2 separate regions of the Homo sapiens genome follow, and region 2 is linked to region 1. The links are contacts of gene promoters, found by promoter capture Hi-C in human tissues and cell types (Jung and others, 2019). All regions are on one chromosome and are shown on one strand. The core of a region is centred on a gene start or on the middle of the fragment in contact, and the rest is flanking DNA. Distances in the headings are between cores, read along the strand shown. Region 1 holds the start of VIPR2 (vasoactive intestinal peptide receptor 2). Region 2 overlaps NCAPG2 (non-SMC condensin II complex subunit G2).

What was found. Contacts are between HindIII fragments. The study calls those that stand out against the background at their distance.
Region 2: a fragment that was not itself captured here is called in contact with the fragment with the promoter of VIPR2 in region 1 in 1 of the 25 tissues and cell types used here (lymphoblastoid cells).

What each region holds. Positions count from the first base shown.
Region 1 is chr7:159,142,330-159,147,841 of GRCh38, reverse strand. VIPR2 (vasoactive intestinal peptide receptor 2) reads left to right here and starts at 2,975. Exons shown (of 13, transcript NM_003382.5): 1 at 2,975-3,121; 2 at 5,297-5,396. The coding sequence starts at 3,071. RefSeq lists an enhancer at 1-1,177. The HindIII fragment of the contact is 14,641 bases long and covers 1-5,512 here.
Region 2 is chr7:158,685,163-158,690,398 of GRCh38, reverse strand. It overlaps NCAPG2 (non-SMC condensin II complex subunit G2), which reads left to right. Exons shown (of 28, transcript NM_017760.7): 6 at 446-580; 7 at 2,957-3,051; 8 at 4,158-4,227. Among named protein-coding and RNA genes, the nearest start is that of NCAPG2, 17 kb to the left of the region's middle. The HindIII fragment of the contact is 3,416 bases long and covers 31-3,446 here.

The DNA.
Region 1 (5,512 bases), core at 1,726-4,225:
AGAGGGGAGTCCATTAAGTTGGTTGGGGGGCTTAGAATTTTATCTTTTGTTTACAAAGGCATATTGAGAACTTTGGTCATTTTTCTAAGAGCATCAGGTAACCGCAGGGTTTGGGGTGTTCAGCAAAGCCCGTGATTACACACACACTGGACCTTCAGAGAAGTGTGCCATCTAGCTACGACCACAGCCATTTCTCCTGGTCTACCCCGTCCATCGGGACGCACTGCTGCAGGGGAAGACTCACCCATCATGCAACCCCTCACTGCACCCTGGACAGTCACTTCTAAAATGCAGGCCCTCAACAAGGTATTGACGTGTGCATTAATCACCTTGATTATTACAGAGCCCCTCTGCGGTGGAAGGGCAGGTGCTGTCATTCCTACAAATGCATAGAGCTCAAAGTTCATCGCTCACCCAGGTGGAACCGGGAGAAAAAGATGCGTTTGTCGAAGGCACCCAGCGCCACGAGCTTTCTTCACAAGCCAAGCAGCCCGCCTAAGGCCCAGGTCTCCCTCTCCTCGTCTCCCACTAGATACACATGGATGAAGCCAGATAGATAACAGGTAGAGGATAGATGACAGGCAGATGACAGATAGGCAGATGATAGATGATCGATAGATGACAGGCAGATGATGGATGACAGGCAGATCACAGATATGATAGATCACAGATAGATGACAAATAGGCAGATGATAGATGACAGGCAGATGACAGATAGGCAGATGATAGATGACTGATAGATGACAGGCAGATCACAGATATGATAGATCACAGATAGATGACAAATAGGCAGATGATAGATGACAGGCAGATGACAGATAGGCAGATGATAGATGACTGATAGATGACAGGCAGATCACAGATATGATAGATCACAGATAGATGACAAATAGGCAGATGATAGATGACTGATAGATGACAGGCAGATCACAGATATGATAGATCACAGATAGATGATAAATAGGCAGATGATAGATGACAGGCAGATGACAGATAGGCAGATGATAGACTGATAGATGACAGGCAGATGACAGATAGGCAGATGATAGATTGATAGATGACAGGCAGATGACAGATAGGCAGATGATAGGTGATTGATAGATGCCAGCCAGATGACAGATAGGCAGATGATAGGTGATTGATAGATGACAGCCAGGTAGATCACAGATATGCCGGATCACAGATGATGGATAGGCAGATGATAGATGACAGATAATAGATGATAGATTACAGATAGACGATCGATAGGAAGATAATAGATGATAGGTACATGACAGATCATAGATAAATGACAGAGAGGTAGATGATAGATGATAAATAGGTAGATGGTAGGTAATAGATAGGTAATAGATCGCAGAGAGATGATAGGTAGATGATAGCTGATTGATACATGATACAGAGATGATAGGTACATGATAGATGGATAGATCATAAATGACAGCAGATGATAGATGATAAATAGGTAGATGACAGGTTATAGATAGGTAAATTACAGATGAAAGATAGGCAAATGATAGATGATAGGTACATAATAGATGGATAGATCATAGATAATAGATGACAGGTAGGTGATAGAGGAAAGGTGGATGATAGATGATAGGCGCATGATGATAGATACCTGACAGATGGATAGATGAAAGGTAGATGATGGACAGGTAGATGATAGATGACAGATAATAGATGACAGATTACAGATAGATGATCGATAGGAAGATGATAGATGATAGGTACATGACAGATCGATAGATGATACGTAGATGATGGATAGGTAGATGATAGATAATGTGGATGATAAACATCAGATGATAGAAAAATCGATATCTGTGAATACGGGGGGTGGGGGATCAGAGAGAAGCAAATGATAAGCCCAATGAGGTAAATGTTAATGACCGAATCCACAAAAAGGATAAAAAGGAGTTATTTGTAATATTCTTATTCTTCTAATTTTTGTGTAAGTTTGAAATTATTTCCAAATAAAAAATTAAAACAACACGAACTTAACTTGTATCTCTCATTCCAGTGCTTTCCACTTGCTGGGGAACGCCGAGCTCTCCTGGGTTGGTCACGCGGGCGCCTTGGGAGGCCGCGCAGTCCCGCGTGGGGCGCGGCGGGGCGGCCCCAGTGGCACCGCGTGAGTCCCCGCCCAGCGTTCCCCACCCGCCGCCGCGTTTGCGGGGAGAGAATGACCCCCGTTTTGCAAACGCAGGACACAAAACCCGCCACCCAGCTGAGGCTGGGACCCACCTATACCCCCGTCTGCGTTTTTCTCCAGCTTTCTGTTCGACCTGATGTCCTCTTTGAGGCTGCGGGGATCCCCACCAAAAAGCACTCTGATTTTCTCCATTTTCAGATGCCCCAACCTAGCCCCACTGGCTACAAAGACGGCGCGCCCACCCCGGACGGGTCTCTGGCCGCTTTCTTGGGCTTCCGCAGTTGTTTAGAAAGGCAGGTACAGGCGGCCGCAAAGGCATCCGCCCCTTCCGAGCGCACACCTGGCCCGGTCCTCCTCTCCCGGCCCCGCGCCGGCCGCTCTCCCCCAGTTCTCTCTACTCGGAGCCGGGCGCGCACTGAGCACCCCGCTTCCCAGCCCCTCCGCCCACAGATCGGGGAGGCGCGGCCGGGAGGGGGGCGTGGGCCAGGGAAGAGGGGAGGAGAACGGAGAGAGAGGCTGGGGGGGTCGAGGAGACCAGAGGGAGCGCGCGCGGCGGGGACAGAGAGCCCAGGGGCGAGGAGAGGGCGCGGGGCGCAGCGGAAGGGGAAGTGGGGGGCGGTGAGGAGGGGCGCGGAGCGGGGGTTCTCGGGGGAGGAGGGAGACGAGGATTGGGGCAGCGCGGGGCGGGGACAGGGGCGGGGGGCGGAGCGGCGGGGCGCGTGGGGGACGGGCGTGCATTGAGCGCGCTCCAGCTGCCGGGACGGAGGGGGCGGCCCCCGCGCTCGGGCGCTCGGCTACAGCTGCGGGGCCCGAGGTCTCCGCGCACTCGCTCCCGGCCCATGCTGGAGGCGGCGGAACCGCGGGGACCTAGGACGGAGGCGGCGGGCGCTGGGCGGCCCCCGGCACGCTGAGCTCGGGATGCGGACGCTGCTGCCTCCCGCGCTGCTGACCTGCTGGCTGCTCGCCCCCGTGAGTGCGCCCGCGACCCCCGCCCCACGGCGCCTCGGACCCGGTTCTCCCCTTCCGAGAAGAGCGCTCCTCCCGCCGGTCTTCGCCTTCCTCCCGGGTGCTGGAGCGCGGGCGGGGTCCGGGAGAGGGAGCGGGGTCGCCCGGGGTCCGGAGCTTCCTCCCGGAGAGCGTGAAGCGCTGAGCTCCGGTCCCGCCGGGTTGCGGGACTCGGGTTGGGAGGCTGCCTGCGCCCTTCCCCGCGCCCCACCGTCCGGGGTTTGCTGGAAACGGGATCGTTTCTTCCTGGACGCGTCAACGATGAGCTCGTTCGGGGCCGTCCCGGGAGCTGGGAGCTGCGGGCGCCTGCGCGGGCTGCGCGTTTCACGGGGAGATCGGGGTTGGCGTTGGCCGCAGATGCCTCTCGGTCCCTCCCTGTACTTACTGGTTAGTTTTAGTGTCGGGGGGACGTGGCGTCGGTTAAATAAAGTTTCCTTTTGGAAATAGTTGCTTTTTCCCAAGGGCACTGGAGGAACTAACTGCTCATAAGTTTGTTGATTAAGTGCCTTCGCACATGGAGTTCTGAATTATTCCCTCTGTGAACCTTAAAAAAAAAGGAAAGAAAAAAGAAAGAAAAAAACCCGAGCCTTGTTTCTTGCTTTCCTCTTGGAGACTGAAGCGGGTTTGCGGTGCGCGCGGTTTTCGTGCGCGTCGCAGCCGAGGCAGGTCTGGATCGATCCGCGGCCCCTCCGCAGCTGGGAGGCTGCGCTGCTGACCCGACAGTGTCATTGATTAACCGGCGACGCCCGGTCTGCAGCGGGGCTCGAGCCACACTCCCTGGCCTTGCGCGGAGGCGCAGCTCGGCTTTCCTCCCTCGAGGGTGGGCGCTTTGCGGAGCGGGTCCTTGGAAAGTAACGGGTTTTATCACGGTTAATGCTGCTTTCATTGCTAAAATGTCCTAAAAGAAGTCATTGCTGTGCATATTCCAGGAACGTCAGGTATTATTAATGTCTTTTACACTTTAACAAAGTTTTTCTTTTTACATCAATATAATTTCCTTAATTCTGAAATTTAAGCCACTTACTTGTCCTGCATGAAAACAGAGGACTTGGAGCCCAAAGTCAGTGCCTGGTGCTGGTTCAGTCACGAGCAAGAAGCAAGCTCGGGGCTCTTTTAAATGGGGCTGAAGGTGGCAGAAGTTCCAGCATTGTTTTCCCCTTAATTCTGTTAGGATATTGTGTTCCTGGTTGGAACTCTCATTGACCATTTCAATAGTAAGATAACTAAACATAGATGGCCATAGTACGCCCAACAGTATGATTCTCTTTAGTTACTACTTTAGTACAAGTAGAATTTTGGTCGGTGGTGGGGGAGGGGGAAGATCAAGACCAAAAGGATGGGTGGGGGGAGCCCTCCTTAAGCCCCCAAGGGCCGCTTGGCAGGCCTGTGCTGACTTCGCGGAGGGCGTGAAGAACAAGGTAGAAACGGTGCCTTCTGAGAGGAAGCATTGTGTAGTTCTGCCTTCTTCTCACATTAGTAGACTGTTAATTACTATCTTTGTGGCACCTTTCGCTCCCCTGATGGATCCTGACTGGAAATCGCCCCCTCTTCTCTGTGGGGCCACAATGGTGTGATTCCCCCACCTCTGCCTCCCTCCTCATCTTGCTGATTTCTTTGAATATCTCTTCCACCCCAAATTCTAGTCAAAACGATTGCAGTTTTATCTGTAGTTAGAGGGTTAAGCTTTGAACATGTACCAACACCTTTAAAAATAAAGCCCTTCTATCACGGCTCTTTCCCGGGTGGAGGCCGTCCTCGGAGGAAGCGGCACAGTCCACAGGCATCCGCTTAAACCAAACCAAAGGGTGTGAAACGGAGGAGCCGGGTATGGAGAGATGAATGGAGTAAAGAGCTCTGTTGCCTCCAAATTAGTACCGATGTATTCTGTTAGTAAGTTCATTTTCCTGCTCAGAAAAAAAATTCTATTAGATTTTGTGTTTGTTTTATAATACCTTTACAAAGTAAATAGTGAAGTTTTTAAAAAATGCCAGAAAAATCAAGGTGATTGGTTTTAAATGCATTTTGGTTTGGAAGCAGTTTAAAGCTGTGAGGTTTGGGGTTGTTTTTGTAGAATTTTTGCTTGCTTTTCTTCTTCTTGTGGAATTTTTAGTTATTAATATTTCTTTTAACCGTGAACAGGTGAACAGCATTCACCCAGAATGCCGATTTCATCTGGAAATACAGGAGGAAGAAACAAAATGTGCAGAGCTTCTGAGGTCTCAAACAGAAAAACACAAAGGTAAGGCAGAGGCTTGGTGAGTAAGAACTCCCGTGACATTCTCACCCGGGAATGCGCCTCACTCAGCTGTGGTTCAGGGTCACCACCTGCATCTTAAAAAAAAAAAAAGAAAAAGA
Region 2 (5,236 bases), core at 489-2,988, 460 kb after region 1:
CTTTATTTTTAAACGTCTTCCTAACATTCTAAACCTGCGCTATTCAACGTAGTAGCCACTTGCCACAGAAAGCTGTTTAAATTTAAAGTTAAAAATAATGAAAAATTCAGTTCCTCAGTTGCATTAGTCACATTTTAGTAGCTCTACAGTGAAATGTGGCTAATGTCTACTGCACTAGACAGTTCAGATGTATAAAATCTTCATCATCGAGGAAGTTCTTAAACTTGCTGGATTTTTAATTATTTTCCTTATGTTTTAAAAAAATGTTCTGTAGAGCTATAGGGGGCATTTGCAAATTTTAAAATCTGTTTTTATTTGTCGTTATTTTTTAATCTTTGATGAATCAACTAGAATTACCATTATTTATGATATAAAATATACTTGATTTGAAATATGACTTTACTGTTCATTGAAAAAGGTATCACATTTTTTGTGTCATTCCTAGGGTGCAGACGTATGTCGGCTTTGGCGTATCCATCAAGCTTTATATTGCTTTGATTATGATTTGGAGGAAAGTGGAGAAATTAAAGATATGTTACTTGAGTGCTTCATAAATATTAATTATATCAAGAAAGAAGAGGTAAATAGGTATTTGTTTTTTGATCTGTTTGTGAGCTGCTTCTTAATAGATGTTTCTCCTGTGTTCACATGGTTCCTGTCTGCACCATGCTCGGTGTTGCTTAGCTACCAGGAGCTATTTACTGCACATGATTTTTACTGCATGGCAGTACTAGAGAAGACATTTTACAAGTCCTTGCTTATTTCATCATTAAATTGGATGGTAACAGGTGGCTGTGTGTTACCTAGGGGAACCGTAATTACATTTTAAATTAAGAATGATTAAAAATAAGGTTGAGAAAGCACTTCTCTATGAATGAGATCTGGCCTTCTGCCCTAATTCCATTTTAATTGCCATGTACTCAAAACTGTCATCCCATAATATCCTCCCTTTCTTTTTTCTACCCATCCTGTAAATCCAGAGAGGCTTCTGGCCTGTTGCTGCACTGCCCGTCCTGGGGTCAACTCCCATATGAGGCTACTGAGCACCTGAAATGGGACCCAACTGAACTGAGATTAGCCATAAGTATAAAATACACATGGATTTGAAGATTTAGTGGGAAAGAAATGAACATAAAATAGCTCATTAATAATTTTTGTTCTATACTTAATATAATAGACAATATTTTTATTGTCTGTTATATTAAATATTGCTTTACATAAAATATATTATTAAAATTAATCTTCTTTACTTTTGTTAACATGACTACTAAAGAATTGAGAATTACAGAGAGGCTCGCATAGTTCTTCTGTGTTAGGGGCCTTCTGCAGTTGTTTACTGAGCGTCGACTACATGCTCAGGCAGTGCCAGGGGAGACTAGAACAAGCTTTTGCATTTGGATGCTCATGGCTCAGCAGGCACATCTCTGAGGCAGAAGGAGGAAGTCATCCCTCCTCCCTGAAGGAGGTGGAGAAGGGCTTCAGAGGAAGAGGAGGACCAGCTCTGAGGTACAGAATAAGTTTCCTCCAGGTGTCACAGCTGCTCAGCGGCAGAGACAGAACTGGACCCCGGCGAGCCATCTGCAGTCTGCTAGACAAAGGGCCATGTGATTAGGACTGAGACCTTTGGCTCCCAGGGTCTTTGTTCACTTTATAGGTGGTGCCCTTGGTCAGGCCTTTCAGCCTCAGAGTTTTGTTCTGTAAAATAGGAGCAACAGTTACTGTTTCACAGGATTGTTGTTAGGAACAGATGAGGTAATATGTATCAAACCGCAGCCCAGGCGCTGGTGGATAAGAACCCCTGGGGAGGGCTGCCCTTTGCCATCCTTGCTGTGTCAGCACCATCGTTATTACAAAGATGTTGGACACAGCCTGTGCCCCACACATGTCTCCAGGATTGTTCTGAAATGGGAGAGTGAAGAAATTAATGATGGATTCAAACAATAAACTATTTTATGTTGACTTATACATAAGGAGTTGATGAATCGTACTTGTTAACTTATATATGTGTGCAGATATATAACAGACATAAATGTATGTATGTGTTATAACCTCTACCCTTTTTAAAAAATTGATGTCTCCTTTGAATTTAAGATATCTAAATGTAGTTTCCTAATCAATCATTAATTTGGTCAGGTCAGTTTCCAGTCATTCTGGGTAAACCATAAACATCTTGTACTGTACTAACAGATTACTTCCAGTGAATATTACTGTTTTTTTTTTTAACTTGCCTGTTGTGAGCATGGTTACCCTGCATTTGAATCAAAATGTATTGCATTTCTGTAGGATTCCAGTTCTGTGCAGTGGTGTGCTGGTAAGAGATGAAGGTGCTATTCACTGAGAGAGTTCTAGATAGATGCATCTTATGCACTCTATAGAGTATGAAGATTGTATTCATTCTTCTTAGGTTCAGATACATAATCTAGTAGCATGCATATAAATTATCATCACATGATGTATTTATGACTTGAAGACTGTGTATTTGGAAATTCTAGCTTGACAAACACTTAGCCTTTTAACTATATGAGTCCTCAGTTTTCTCATCTATAAATGAGAAGGTGAAATGAACTGGGATATTCAACTCCATTCCCACCCACCTATGCTAGATTTAAAGCTTTCTTTCATTTGAGACTATGGAACCATCCATGACAGAGCCAGAATGAGATGTTTATGGACCCATGGTTACTGTCTGTGGTCTCCATCTCTGCACCTGTGGCCCTTGAGGACAGAGGCGCTCAGTGTAGCGGCTGCTCGGCCCTGGGGGAGGTGGCTTGTGTGGCTCCTGGCTGTGCAGGCCCCGCAGACAGCTCAACTCGTGCATGTGCTCTCAGTGATAATTACATGTGCCTCGTTTTTAGCAATAGCAATGTTTAGCTTACTAGACGTTCAAATAATTGTTTGTTATTTGGCACTTTTTATTTGGTTGCAATGTAAACATTCTATCCTTTTTTATTTCTAGGGAAGAAGATTTCTTAGTTGTCTCTTCAACTGGAATATCAACTTCATCAAAATGATCCACGGGACCATTAAAAACCAGTTACAGGGATTACAAAAGTAAGTGTTAAAAGTACTGAAGATTTTGTGCTGTCTTAATCTGGTTTTGAAAGATTCCATTTGGTCTGACTTCTTAAGTTATAGTAATGGATTAGAAGCTTTAGAAATACGTTATTTATTATGTACCATTGGATCACTGGGTAGCTTTTTCCTTTTATAGGAAATCATTCTTTTCCAGTATTGACCACTGAAATTAAGGTTTTAATTTGTGGTAGTTCTTTAAATAGTTAAAATAGTTTCCAGTTGAACCTTAGCCTCGCTCGTAATAAAGCCATGTCCATGGTACTTTGAATGCAATGTGTGCTTTTTGGTTGAACGTGGCCTGGCCAGGGTGGCTTCTCGGAAGAGCCTGTGGAATCTGCAGGAGCAGCAGGGAACGTTGCAGTCATGACTCTGCCACTCCCTGCGTGATGGAGATGTCAAGTGTGTGCTTGTCGTTTGCCAGGCACAAGGCAGAGTACTTCATTTGCTCCAGCACTGAGTACTTAGTCTCCATTTTAAAATTTAATCCTCACAACTCTCTTTTGAGATAGGCTTTGCTTTCTAAATTTCCCAGTGTCAGGCAACTGTATAAGTACCAAGTTGGGATCTGATTCTGGATCTCTGATTGCAAAGCTCCTGTTGTATACTAGATTGCTTTTTCATATTTCCTCATCTTCAGAATATTTGAGTTGAACTAATAGATTTCTAAGCTTATGATTCTTAAGTTGATACTGGTATTTTAGGGCTTCTTGTACCTCAGGAATTGGTAGCGTGAAAAGTCCAACGTGACTCCAAGTCGACAATTTATTTATATTTAAATATTTTTGACTTTAGAATTTTGTTCTGGACTTATGCACTCATAGTTTCACAGAAAATAGTAAAGTTTTGGGTAAGCCTTGACTGAGAAGGATGAAATAGTTCGTCACTTCAGTTTCCTTTCCCAAAACCTTCTCCGTTTTCTACTTTTTGCTACAGGTAGATAACCTATTTCTATAGATGATTTGCAAAGCACTAGTTTAAACTGAGTTTCTTCTTCACTATGGTTGGAGAGTAGCTGAAATGATACATGTTGAAAGAATAATTCTTAAAATTTGCATTAAAACTATTTTGATCTTTTTATATAGGTCTTTGATGGTATACATTGCAGAAATTTATTTCAGAGCTTGGAAAAAGGCTTCAGGGAAAATACTGGAGGTATTTTCATTTTTTTAAATGTTAACACTTATTTTTATTATATTTTAGTTACTAAATAAGTAGTCAAAGAAGGGTTATTTAAGATCCATGTTTATGCACTCTGTCAAAATAAAGCCAAATAATGAAAATCTATTTGATGGGCAATCCAGTCACTTGCTAAGATGTGTGGTTTGTGGGAGGTAGGACTGTGCTCTTTCAGCTGGGAGGGAGCTCTGACCCTGATCTTTCCAGCCATGTGCTCACTGGGCATTTGGAACGTGGCCAGTCTGAATCAAGATGTGTTGTAAGTGTAAGAAACATACCAGATTTCAAAGACTTCATATGGAAATGAGAATATAAAATATCTCAGTACTTTTTAAAAATGTTGAGTGAATGTTGAAATGTTAGTGGTTTGGATGTATTAGGCGAAATGTGGTAGTTGGCCCTTTGTGGGTTTCGCATCCATGGATTCAATCAACCAAGGATCGAAAATATTTGGGAAAAAAATGCATTGTACTTAACATGTACAGACTTTTTTTTCCTTGTCATCAGTCCCTACACATATAGTGTCACAACTATTTCCATAACATTGACACTGTATTAAGTATTATAAGTAATCTAGAGATGATTTAAAGTGTGCAGGAGTGCATAGGTTATATGCAGATACTACTCCACTTTATATGAGGAATTTGAGCATCCGCAGATTCTGGTCTCTGAGGGAGGTCCTAGAACTGATCCCCCATGGATACCAAGGGATGACTGTGTAATATTGAAGTAATTTTACCTGTTTCTTTTGTCTGTTTTTAATGCAGCCACTAGAAAATTTAAAATTGCATCTGTGGCTTGCATTCAGTTTCTATTGGATAGTGCCGTTCAGGGACTTCAAGTCACCTCTTTTAGTTACATTATTTTTGAGAATTTGAAGATATTTTCTTTGATTATGGGTAACTCTGGTGAATACATAGTATTTATGTTATGAAGATAGGGCTATGTAATCCACAATCCCAACTCAACATCCAGATACCCTTTT